Linked DNA regions of Homo sapiens: all the other regions are linked to region 1. The links are contacts of gene promoters, found by promoter capture Hi-C in human tissues and cell types (Jung and others, 2019). All regions are on one chromosome and are shown on one strand. The core of a region is centred on a gene start or on the middle of the fragment in contact, and the rest is flanking DNA. Distances in the headings are between cores, read along the strand shown.

Region 1 (2,813 bases), core at 65-2,564:
TGAACTTGAAATGGAGTGGAATTTCAATGTAGAGTTACCCATTAGCTCCAGGGCTAAATTTAAACCTTTAATTAAATTAATCCGTTGATCTGAAACACATTGCTTCTCCCTCAAAAGTGCAGCAGGTTTCTTAGGTGTCACAGAGCTTAATTCAGTGTGGCAATTGTTCCTTACTGCATTTGTTAAGTTGCCCATACCGCCTGGGGAAACCCGCACACGTTTTCAGATCCCTCCAGGTGAACTCCTCCACCCTGTCCCCGCCCCCGCCCCCACCCCCAACCAAAACAAGCATTCGTTGTGGGTGGGGACTGCGACTCCTCCCAGATTCAGAGCTACTGCTCTGGGAGGGCCGTCAGGAACCCGTATTTATAGAAGACATGGTAGGTGCCAAACGTGCTTATGAGATAAACGACAGGGTAACTGTCCACATTGGTCCCAGTTTATGAGGGAGAAGAGATCATAATCTACAAAAATTTGCAAGGTGACCAGGGGAAAAGAGTGTAAGGTCATTTTAGCCCACCTGGGTCTTCACAGAAAATGGAGCACATTTCAGAGCCAAAGTAAAAAATTTGCGTTGTCCTTTGCTAAGAGAGAGATGAAAAGTGACAATACCATGGATTGGGGATGCGTGAGTTCGTTGGCCACATGTAAGATGTTCGTGCTTCTGGGCTCTTATGCATCCCAAGGCGTGCATTTATCCCGGGGGCTGCATCCTTGGCCTGGGAATGAATAGACCCAACTGCAATGGTTGTTAGCGATAGCTTTACGGTGGGACAGTCTCCATAGGGGCTGTGGACTTACCCGTGTTATTATGAAAAGGATCTATTTACTTCTCGGGGACCAACGGCCTTGCGGGGTCCAAGTAACTCGCTCGCAGTCCAAAACTCTGCAACGCTCCACATAACCGTCCTGTAGACCCACAACTCTCCCAGGAGCACAGCCCCAGGACCTAACCCACCGGGTTCTGCTCGCTCACCCAATTCCCAGTGCGAGCGCGCGGGGGAAACGTGCTCGCCTCCCGCACCTGGCTTCCGCGGCCCCGGGAGTCGCCAACTCTCCCAGCAGGCAGCTCCGACAACCCGGACAGCCGGGCCGATCCCCCGCCCCACCACCCGCTCGGCTCTCGCGTCCTCCTCTTCCTCCTCCCGTGGCCCCTTGCCTCCCGCCGTCTGCCTCTGCGGCCGCCGCCTGCGGCTTTGTTTTCCTCCCAGGTCGCATTCCCCACACGTGATTCCGTGTTATTGCAAAGAGGGCTTTGGAGCGCGAGCGCGGGGCGCGCGCACCTATAAATACGGACACCCGGCCCCGGAGCCCGCGAGCCAGCGGCCAGGCGACCGGCGGGCGGCCAGCCAGCGAGCCGAACTAGCCGAGCTAGGTAGCGAGGCGTGCGCGTGGGCCGGGGCGGCGGCGCCCCCATCCCCAGCACCGAGGGGCGAGCATGGCCCGCCCGCGGGGGGGCTGGACCGCCGCGCACGCCGCCCGATCCCCGCGCCCTACCCAGCCCGGGTCGCCGCCGCTCGCGCCCGCCGCTTAGCGCTCGGGCGCCGCTCGCTTCTCCGGGCATCGCGGAAATCCCGCCGCAGACGGACACAATGGCGGCGGCGGCGGCGGCCGCCACCACGGCCGCCTGCAGCAGCGGCAGCGCCGGCACCGACGCCGCGGGCGCCAGCGGATTGCAGCAGCCGCCGCCGCAGCCCCAGCCTCAGCCCGCGGCCGCCGCGCCGGCCCAGCCGCCGCCCGAACCCCCCCGGAAGCCGCGCATGGACCCGCGGCGCCGCCAGGCTGCCCTCTCCTTCCTCACCAACATCTCGCTGGACGGCCGGCTGCCGCCGCAGGACGCGGAGTGGGGCGGTGGCGAGGAGGGCGGCGCGGCCAAGCCGGGCGCCGGCGGCGCCTGCGGCGCGAGGACTCGGTTCAGCTTGCTCGCCGCTGCCGAGCGGGGCGGCTGCATCGCGCTCGCCGCGCCGGGCACGCCGGCTGCGGGGTTAGCCGCTGGGTCCGGCCCCTGCCTCCCACAGCCCTCGTCGCTGCCGCCCTTGATTCCTGGCGGCCATGCGACCGTGTCCGGCCCCGGGGTGGCGCGGGGGTTCGCGAGTCCCCTGGGCGCCGGCCGGGCGTCGGGGGAGCAGTGGCAGCCGCCCCGGCCGGCGCCTCTCGCCGCCTGTGCCCAACTGCAGCTGCTCGACGGGTCCGGGGCCGCCGGGCAGGAGGAGTTGGAGGAGGACGATGCCTTTATCAGCGTGCAGGTGCCGGCGGCCGCCTTTTTGGGCTCCGGGACCCCCGGGAGTGGGAGCGGCAGTCGGGGACGCCTCAACTCGTTCACTCAGGGAATCCTGCCCATCGCCTTCTCCAGGCCGACTTCGCAGAACTACTGCTCCCTGGAGCAGCCAGGCCAGGGCGGCAGCACCAGCGCCTTCGAGCAGCTGCAGAGGTCCCGGTGAGTATCCGGGATGCGACGCGCACCCAACCCTGCGTCCCGCCCGGCGCTCCCAGCCTCCCCGCGGTCTCTGGGCTACGGGACACGGGTTGCTCCCATTTTCCCGCGCCCTGCCGGATCCTGTGCTCCGGGCCCGAATCCCAAACCACGAGGGCACCCAAAAGAGGGGGCGTCCCCAGGGAGTGCGGGGTTACACGTGTTTGCACGAGCCCAGCATTCGCAGAGGAGCACCGCGCTTGTGCAGTGGGTCGGGAATTGGGAGTTGCAGGAGCCCAGTAGAAAGCGGCGTCCGAGCCTCCCCACACGAGATCACAAACTTCCTGAAACCCGGTCCAGACCCGGAGGCGCACTCTTCCCCGCGTGGGGCGAGACTCGG
Region 2 (2,982 bases), core at 132-2,631, 190 kb before region 1:
TGGTAATATTTGAGATATATAGTTTTTACTTAGCTACAGAAATGTACCCATAGGAACTTGCTTGAATCTGAATGCTCTGCTACACGTGTTTAGAATTATTTTTGCCTCTTTTGCCAAAACATAATAAAATGATAGCAAAATATGACAGTATGTGCACTGATCACAACAATATAATAAACTGCATCCATGTCTTTTAAAACTAGGCAAGAATAGACAAAATGCTCTAATTTCTGTTGGAGACTAGCAATATGCAAACCAGACCATTTTTGTTGAAAAATTCTGGAGACATTTATGACCGAGTTTTTATATCCTTTAAGATAATTTTATCCTTTCATGATTGTATCATTTCATGATATGTTCCTTTTGTGACAAATGCTGCTAGTATCAGTGTCACAGATTGTTACTGATGATATACAGTGTTTATGCTTTAAATTCCGAACTCACAGAATTTAATGGAAACTTCAGAATTCTTTAAATTTCAAAAGTTTTAAAGCATATTTATTTGGGTACAAAATTTTATTGCCTTTAAAAATCTTTTTCAGTATCAAGTTTATTATCAAAAGCACAAATAATAAAATAGAATTTAAAATATTTATTTTCAGAATACCACTATTTTAATAAATGATCTTTTGCCTATGCCAGCGTCTGCTATTAACATCTAGCTAATATATTTTCTGTGTCTAGTAAATATGGTAATCAGTTTCAAAGAAAACTAGGTAGGTTTTGTGAGGCAAAGTTGAAACACCTTGAAGAAATGGGAAAGTTTGGGGGCTCTAATAGGACAGGATAAATATTTCTTGATTCATTTTTTAATTGCTCCATTTATTTTCTATACATAGAATCAAAAATTCTAAAAAGAGAACATTATCTTAAGACTGCACAAATTAACAGTGAAAGGAATTGTCCCACTCATTATTAAGAATGCTGTCAGGCTGGGCACAGTGGCACACACTTGGGAGGCCAAGGCAGGAGGATTACTTGAGTCCGGGAGTCTGAGACCAGCCTGGACAACAAAGCGAGACCCTGTCTCTACAAAAAACATTTTTTTAATTAGCTAGGCATGGTGGTGTGTGCCTGTGGTCCCAGCTACTTGAGAGGTTGAGGCAGGAGGATCGCTTGGGCCTGGTAAGTCAAGGCTACAGTGAGCCGTGATTGCACCACTGCACCCCAGCCTGGGTGACAGAAATCCTGTCTCAAAAATAATAATAATATTATTATTATTATCAGTAACTCTCACACCTTTTATTTTTTATTTGCATTCACATCTGTAAATAATAAAATCCACAAAAATTAATTTACCCATTTTGAGATAATTCAATCTTAAGCAAAGTGAGCACAGCTTAAGTATGGCTTTGGAATTTAAATAATTTGTTAGGCAATTATAGAAATGCTAGCAGTAGTAGTTTTGGTTGAAGTTTAATTACTTCATTTGTATATAAAGCCCCCACTGTTTGTCAAGAAAGTGATGTTAGGGGTATTATTTATAATTCAGAACCATAAATAACTTGTTTAAAATGACAGTACATACATTTTATATATATATATGGTTTGGTCTGGGTAAAGAACTAAAATAAGAACATAGCAGTGATTTTTGTTAATGCATAAGGAATTCTTGCCTCATTTCTGAACTCTTAAATTTGCTTTGTGTATTACAATATACAGGCCCTTGATTGTTTCATTTCCTCCAAAATTTATGTATGAGTGTGTGTAAGGTTAATTGTAGCACAGTGCTTGGTCTTGTGAACACTGTTTCCTCAATAGGTATCTTAGGTTGCCAGTGTTACAATCCCAGATACTTTGTTCAACAGATTACCTGTTCATACAGGAGCTACATTGTTGTATAGCCTCATTCCTTCCGATGGGTGTGGAGCAGGATTAAAGCACACTTTATAGGGGTTCTAATTGTAGATTCCTAATTGACTTGGTGAATAGCAAATGCTAAAATTTAAACACACACACATATACACATATAAACCTGTTTCAGGGTGATCTACGTGACAGAACAAATGCCTCACAGGTGTTGAATGCTTACCAGATAAAAGAGTAGTTCTTCCCCTGTTTCCCAAGGATTTTCTTTTGAAGTTTATATGGATTTTCTGTCTCATTGTTTCTTTTCTTAAAATGGTTTGTGGCAAGAATCCATTTCATCTTTGGCTGCACTTTTCACTTTTAAAGGCAGAACTGATTGTTAGAAGTCAGCCAAAATTAAAAACAAAAAAAAAATCTGTCAAGTAAAATTTCGCACATTTTTGAGAAGGGAAAACATGTGCATGGATGCACCACAGGTTTTGGTTTTTTAAACAACTCACTTATTGAAGGATGTTTGGGTTGTTTCTAATGTTTGGCTAAGACTGCTGTGAACATTCAATACAGGTTTATCTGTAACATTTTTTTCACCATCTTATTTATAACATTTTATTTATTCAAATTATAGAGCATAGAATCGAAGATAAAATGTGTCATATCAGTTGGACATTTTCTAAAGGTGAAATTTGAGACATAAGGAAAAAATGTAACATCCAAAAAATTCTCCAGGGCCTTTATTTTTCCACAGTATATGGATTTCCTGGCAATAAATCATTACTATGGAGGGCAATAAGAAGAGATGACTTCTTCTTTAGTGTCTATGTGACCATGGTTGGGAAATGTATAGGTTTGTTTTTAAAATTTGTATTTGTCTAAATTATGTTGTCCAAAAGATTGTATCAAGTTTAACAAATAAAGAAAAATTATGTTCTTAGGAATGATAAATATATTAATGTTTCTATACACATATATGAAAAACTTTTCTGATTTATAACTTGATAGAATCTGTGAACTACCAAAGGCATATAGTAAATATTCTTGGGTTCTTCGGAAATCAGTCAACTAGTAATTATTTATTGGTAACTAACTGCCACCAAATAAAAATTCTTGAGTAGATCTATAATTGGGTAAATTGTAGAATAGTAAAAGCACTGATTGAGAAATTAAAGAGTAAAT
Region 3 (2,802 bases), core at 87-2,586, 140 kb before region 1:
ATCCTTCAGCCCTTGAATAAATGCTCTCCAGACAATAAACCATCATTACAAATAAAAGAAGAAAATGCTGTCTTTAAAATTCCTCTACGTCCACGTGAAAGTTTGGAGACTGAGAATGTTTTAGATGACATAAAGGTTTGTGTTAAATGTTCAAGGATTTTGATTAAAATGATTGCTTGTGATTTCATTTAGAGCTAACAATTATTTCTGTTTTAGAGTGCTGGTTCTCATGAGCCAATAAAAATACAAACCAGGTCAGACCATGGAGGATGTGAACTTGCATCAGTTCTTCAGTTAAATCCATGTAGAACTGGTAAAATAAAGTCTCTACAAAACAACCAAGGTGTGTACACCATAAACAGGATCTCCACTTTTTTAATGACTTCAGATTGAATGTCATTATTTACTTTTTTAAATAGATTGAATTGTTTTGGAAAAAAACTTATTTCTTCCTTCAGGTGTCTGTATTTATAGGACGATTCTCACATTTTACCGGTGATTTTTCTGTTCTTTTTTTTTTTTTTTTTTTTTTTTGAGACGGAGTCTCGCTCTGTCGCCCAGGCTGGAGTGCAGTGGCGCGATCTCGGCTCACTGCAAGCTCCGCCTCCCGGGTTCACACCATTCTCCTGCCTCAGCCTCCCGAGTAGCTGGGACTATAGGCGCCCACCATGCCCGGCTAATTTTTTTTTTTTGTATTTTTAGTAGAGACGGGGTTTCACCACATTAGCCAGGATGGTCTAGATCTCCTGACATCGTGATCCACCAGCGTCGGCCTCCCAAAGTGCTGGGATTACAGGCGTGAGTCACTGCGCCCGGCCACTTATATACGTTTTTAAACTCCTTTAAAAACATTGTTGGCCCGGTACGGTGGCTCACACCTGTAATCCCAGCACTTTGGGAGGCCGACGCTGGTGGATCACGATGTCAGGAGATCGAGACCATCCTGGCTAACGTGGTGAAACCCCATCTCTACTAAAAACACAAAAAATAAGCCAGGCATGGTGGCAGGCGCCTGTAGTCCCAGCTATTCGGGAGGCTGAGGCAGGAGAATGGTGTGAACCCGGGAGGTGGAGCTTGCAGTGAGCCGAGATCGTGCCACTGCACTGCACTCCAGCCTGGGTGACAGAGCAAGACTCCGTCTCAAAAAAAAAAAAGAAAAAAAAAATTGTTTGCCTTAAGATATATAGGCATCTTTTCATAATTTTGCTATATTTTATTATTATTATTATTATTATTTGAGACAGGGTCCTACTCTGTCACCCAGACTGGAGTGCAGTGGCATGATCACGGCTCACTTGCAGCCTTGACCTCCCAGGCTCAGGTGGATCCTCCCATCTCAGCCCCCTGGATAGCTGGGACTACAAGCATGCACCACCACACCCAGCTGATTTTTTTATTTTTTGAAGTGACTGGGTTTCGCCTTGTTGCCCAGGTTGGTCTCGAACTACTGGACTCAAGCCATCTGCCTGCCTTGGCCTCCCAAAGTGCTGGGATTACAGGTGTGAACCACCCACGCCCAGCCTGCTATCTTTAAAAAAGTAATTTTTTTTTTCAGCCACCAAACATTTCTGTAGTTCAAGTGCAGTATTTTTTCTTGTATTCTTCATTGGCAAGTTATTCCTTTATTCTGGGTTTATTTTCCCTTTTTCCTGAAGCACAGTCATTAGTTGTTTTTCCAGTGAGTGTTTTAGTCTCTATATGAAAACATTTTTTTCACTATCATTCATGATTTTTTTTGAGCTTTTTGTTTTTATTTTTTTCATGGTTGCTCTAGGGATTACAGTATCTACCTACTTAGCCTTTTACAATCTACTTGGAGTTAATGTACTATTTCATGTTCTGTAACTACACTTTATGTAGTTCCTGTGTATTTTATCTACATATATTGAAAACCCCATCAATGTTATAGTTTTTAATTTTAAAAAATTTTAATTGAAATATAAATCACATACCATAAAAATCACCCATTAAAATGTTCAATTCAGTGGTTTGGTATACCCACAGAGTTGTACAACCATCACTGTAGTCTAGGTTTACAACATTTTCATCACTTTCCTTCCCCATATACCCTCTGCAGTCCTAGGCACCTTAAATCTACTTTCTCTCTTTGTAGATTTGCCTATTCTGGGAGTTTTCATATAAATGGAATCGTTTAATATATGATCTTTTGTTACTTCTTTCACTTGGCATAATGTTTTCAGTTATCTGTGTTACAGCATATATCAATATTTTATTTCTTTTTATTGGATAATTTTTTATTGCATAAGTATACCATATTTTAGGTATTTATTAGCTGACATTCAAGTTGTCACTTTTTTGCTATTATGAACAATGCTGCTATGAACATTTGTATACAGGTTTTTGTGTGGATGTATGTTTTCATTTTTCTTGGATTATACCTAGGAGTGGAATTGTTGGGCCATATGCCAATTCTACATTTTACCTTTTGAAAGACTGCCTGTTTTCCAAAGCAGCTACACCATTTCACATTCCCACCAGCAGTATGTGAGGGTCCCAGTATCTCCACCTCCTCACTAGCACTTGTTATAGCTTTTTGATTTTTGCCATCTCGTGGTTTTGGTTTGCATTTCCTTGACTGCTGATGATGTTGAGCATCCTTTCATGTTTATTGGCAATTTGTATATCTTCTTTGGAGAACTGTCTATTTAGATCCTTTGCCCATCTTTAATTGGGATATTTGTCTTTTTATTATGGAGCTGTGAGAGTTCTTTATATATCTTAGATATAAGTCCTTTACCAGACATATGATTTGCAAAAATTTTCTATTCTTTAGGTCCCATA
Region 4 (2,700 bases), core at 123-2,622, 170 kb before region 1:
AATACTTATTATATTATTGGCTTAGTTATTGACTTGAAATTATTATCTTTGGGCCAGGTGCAGCGGCTCACGCCTGTAATCCCAGCACTTTGGGAGGCGGAAGCAAGCGGATCACGAGGTTGGGAGATCGAGACCATCCTGGCTAACTCAGTGAAACCCCATCTCTATGAAAAATACAAAAAATTAGCCAGGAGAGGTGGCGGGCACCGGTAGTCCCAGCTACTCGGGAGACTGAGGCAGGAGAATGGTGTGAACCCAGGAGGCGGAGCTTGCAGTGAGCTGAGATTGCGCCACTGCACTCCAGCCTGGGTGACAGAGCAGGACTCCGTCTCAAAAAAAAAAAAAAAACAATTATCTTCGAATTTATTTCCTGAATTCTTAACGTGGGGTATGTGTCTCCTTTTTAACTGTATTTTTTTCTGATTAGGTAAATAATGAAATTGGAAAATGTTTCAAAAATATGGAAAATGAAGAAGAGAAAATCTCCCATAATACTGTCACCTACAAGATAACTATTATTAACATTTTGGAATATAACTCTTCCTCACCTGCTTGTGTGATATGTGTTTTTCTCTTCAACAGTCACAAATAATTAGTAAAAGCTATTTCGTATTTTTTTTTTTTTTTTTTTGAGACGGAGTCTCGCTTTGTCACCCAGGCTGGAGTGCAGTGGTGCAATCTCAGCTCACTGCAAGCTCCGCCTCCCAGGCTCACGCCATTCTCCTGCCTCAGCCTCCCGAGTAGCTGGGACTACAGGTGCCCGCCACCACGCACAGCTAATTTTTTGTATTTTTAGTAGAGACAGGGGTTTCACTGTGATAGCCAGGGTTGTCTCGATCTCCTGACCTTGTGTTCCGCCCGCCTCGGCCTCCCAAAGTGTTGGGATTACAGGCGTGAGCCACTGTGCCCAGCCTGTAATTTTTTTTATGTAATACATTGTGAATTTTTACTAATAATTTTTTTAATGCCAAAAGGAAAATATGAGGTGACTTTTTCTCCCTTGTATTTCTTGACCTTTATTCAACAATATTGACAAAAAAAAATTTTTTTTTTTTTTGAGTCAGAGTCTTGCTCTGTCCCCCAGGCTGGAGTGCAGTGGCATGATCTCAGCTCACTGCAACCTCCACCTCCCGGGTTCAAGCGATTCTTCTGCCTCAGCCTCCCGAGTAGCTGGGACTACAAGCGAGCACCACCACAGCTGGCTAATTTTTGTATTTTTTAGTAGAGACGGTGTTTACTGTATTGGCCAGGCTGGTCTTGAACTCCTGACCTCATGATCCTGTCGCCGCAGCCTCCCAGAGGGCTAAGATTACAGGCATGAGCCACTGTGCCCTGCCAATGATTGGCAAATAAATTTTGATGAATTTAATTTTTCATCAAAAATATTATTGAACACTCACTATGGGTGACATACTGTGCTGAGCAAAGCAGCTGCAAAGTTGCTTCAGGTATAATTCTACCCCTTGGTATTAGACTAGGGTTCATATTTTGACCATAACAAATTAAAACAAGGTCAGCTTCTTCAATAAATAAGTTCCCTTAGCATGAGTTTAAAATTGGCAGATTTTTATAGAATTGCAATCTGAAGAAAATGGTGGTATAACATGATTTCAGCCTATATAAGAATATGTTAAAGGTATAATAACATCATTAATCTAGTTGATTTTCACAGTATTTGCCAAGTCAGTTCCTTAAATCTTTATAAAAGTCTTGGAATTCCAAAGAAGGAAATCTCTTTTAGTGGATGAAAAATACCTTGTTTTGTTTCATAGGTTAAGAGCAGGCTTATGTGATCGCTGTGCAGTAACTGAAGAACATATGCGGAAAAAACAGCAAGAGTTTGAAAATATCCGGCAGCAGAATCTTAAACTTATTACAGAACTTAGTGAGTTTCCTTTCTTCATTTATTATTTAAAGTATGTAATGTATTATTTTTAAGACCTATTAGTAAATTGGTTGTAATTAAATGGATGGTTTACATATATTTTTCCTTATTTAGTAAAAGTTCAAATGTCCTTTTTTGTACTTTTTGTAGATTTAATCTCATGCTTAATTTAGTAAGAAATAGGGTACAAAAAGGTTGTGCAAATACTGTCCACATTGGTCTTAAGTCATCAGTTGTAAGACAAGAAGCAGGTGGTGTTTTTTTTTTTTGGACATGTCCATATTTGCTTCTTTGGTTTTAATCTTTATTTCATGTAACCTTAATACTTAGTAAAGTTAAATACAAAGCAGACAATTTATTGTTCTACACTTGTTTTCTCTCTTGGTATTTATGACATACTGTTTTCATAAGTATACTATTTTCAGTTTATTCTCCTTACCTATTGAGTGTAGAGTTTTTCTACATTCTTAGCCGCCTTCTTTTATTCTTTTAATACTTCTGTTAACCTTATTCTCTTATAACTATTTATTTCTTTTGGTGACCATTACCTGGATTTCCCATAAGCAACTCACAATCAATATATTCAAAATCTAATTAATTATCTTCTTTTCCAAACTAATTCTGTCTTTTATTTTTTTCTGTTAATTATATTGCTACCCTGTGGTTATTCAAGCAAGAATATTGAATATATGCTCATTGTTTTTAAAAGAGGTAAGAAAGAATATAGCTTTATTCTGCTCCCAGAGGTAACTACTGTTAATAGTCTGATACATATCTGTCCAGGTCCAGGTTTTTCTGTCTCTGTGCCTTGTTAG

The links. The method cuts DNA at HindIII sites, captures the fragments that hold promoters and counts their contacts. A contact is called where the count stands out against the background at its distance.
Region 2: a contact is called between a fragment that was not itself captured here and the fragment with the promoter of CABLES1 in region 1, in 1 of the 25 tissues and cell types used here (mesenchymal stem cells).
Region 3: a fragment that was not itself captured here is called in contact with the fragment with the promoter of CABLES1 in region 1 in 1 of the 25 tissues and cell types used here (spleen).
Region 4: a contact is called between a fragment that was not itself captured here and the fragment with the promoter of CABLES1 in region 1, in 1 of the 25 tissues and cell types used here (lymphoblastoid cells).

The regions. Positions count from the first base shown.
Region 1 is chr18:23,134,171-23,136,983 of GRCh38, forward strand. It overlaps CABLES1 (Cdk5 and Abl enzyme substrate 1), which reads left to right and starts at 1,315. Exons shown (of 10, transcript NM_001100619.3): 1 at 1,315-2,437. The coding sequence starts at 1,593. RefSeq lists silencers at 114-203, 214-323, 1,084-1,163, 1,284-1,493, 1,624-1,833 and 3 more and an enhancer at 514-663. The HindIII fragment of the contact is 17,284 bases long and covers 1-2,813 here.
Region 2 is chr18:22,942,240-22,945,221 of GRCh38, forward strand. All of the region lies in intron 2 of RBBP8 (RB binding protein 8, endonuclease), which reads left to right. Among named protein-coding and RNA genes, the nearest start is that of RBBP8-AS1, 10 kb to the left of the region's middle. The HindIII fragment of the contact is 3,388 bases long and covers 1-2,982 here.
Region 3 is chr18:22,993,505-22,996,306 of GRCh38, forward strand. It overlaps RBBP8 (RB binding protein 8, endonuclease), which reads left to right. Exons shown (of 19, transcript NM_002894.3): 11 at 1-135; 12 at 217-343. Among named protein-coding and RNA genes, the nearest start is that of RBBP8-AS1, 61 kb to the left of the region's middle. The HindIII fragment of the contact is 5,082 bases long and covers 1-2,802 here.
Region 4 is chr18:22,967,034-22,969,733 of GRCh38, forward strand. RBBP8 (RB binding protein 8, endonuclease) reads left to right here. Exons shown (of 19, transcript NM_002894.3): 5 at 1,773-1,885. Among named protein-coding and RNA genes, the nearest start is that of RBBP8-AS1, 35 kb to the left of the region's middle. The HindIII fragment of the contact is 4,619 bases long and covers 1-2,700 here.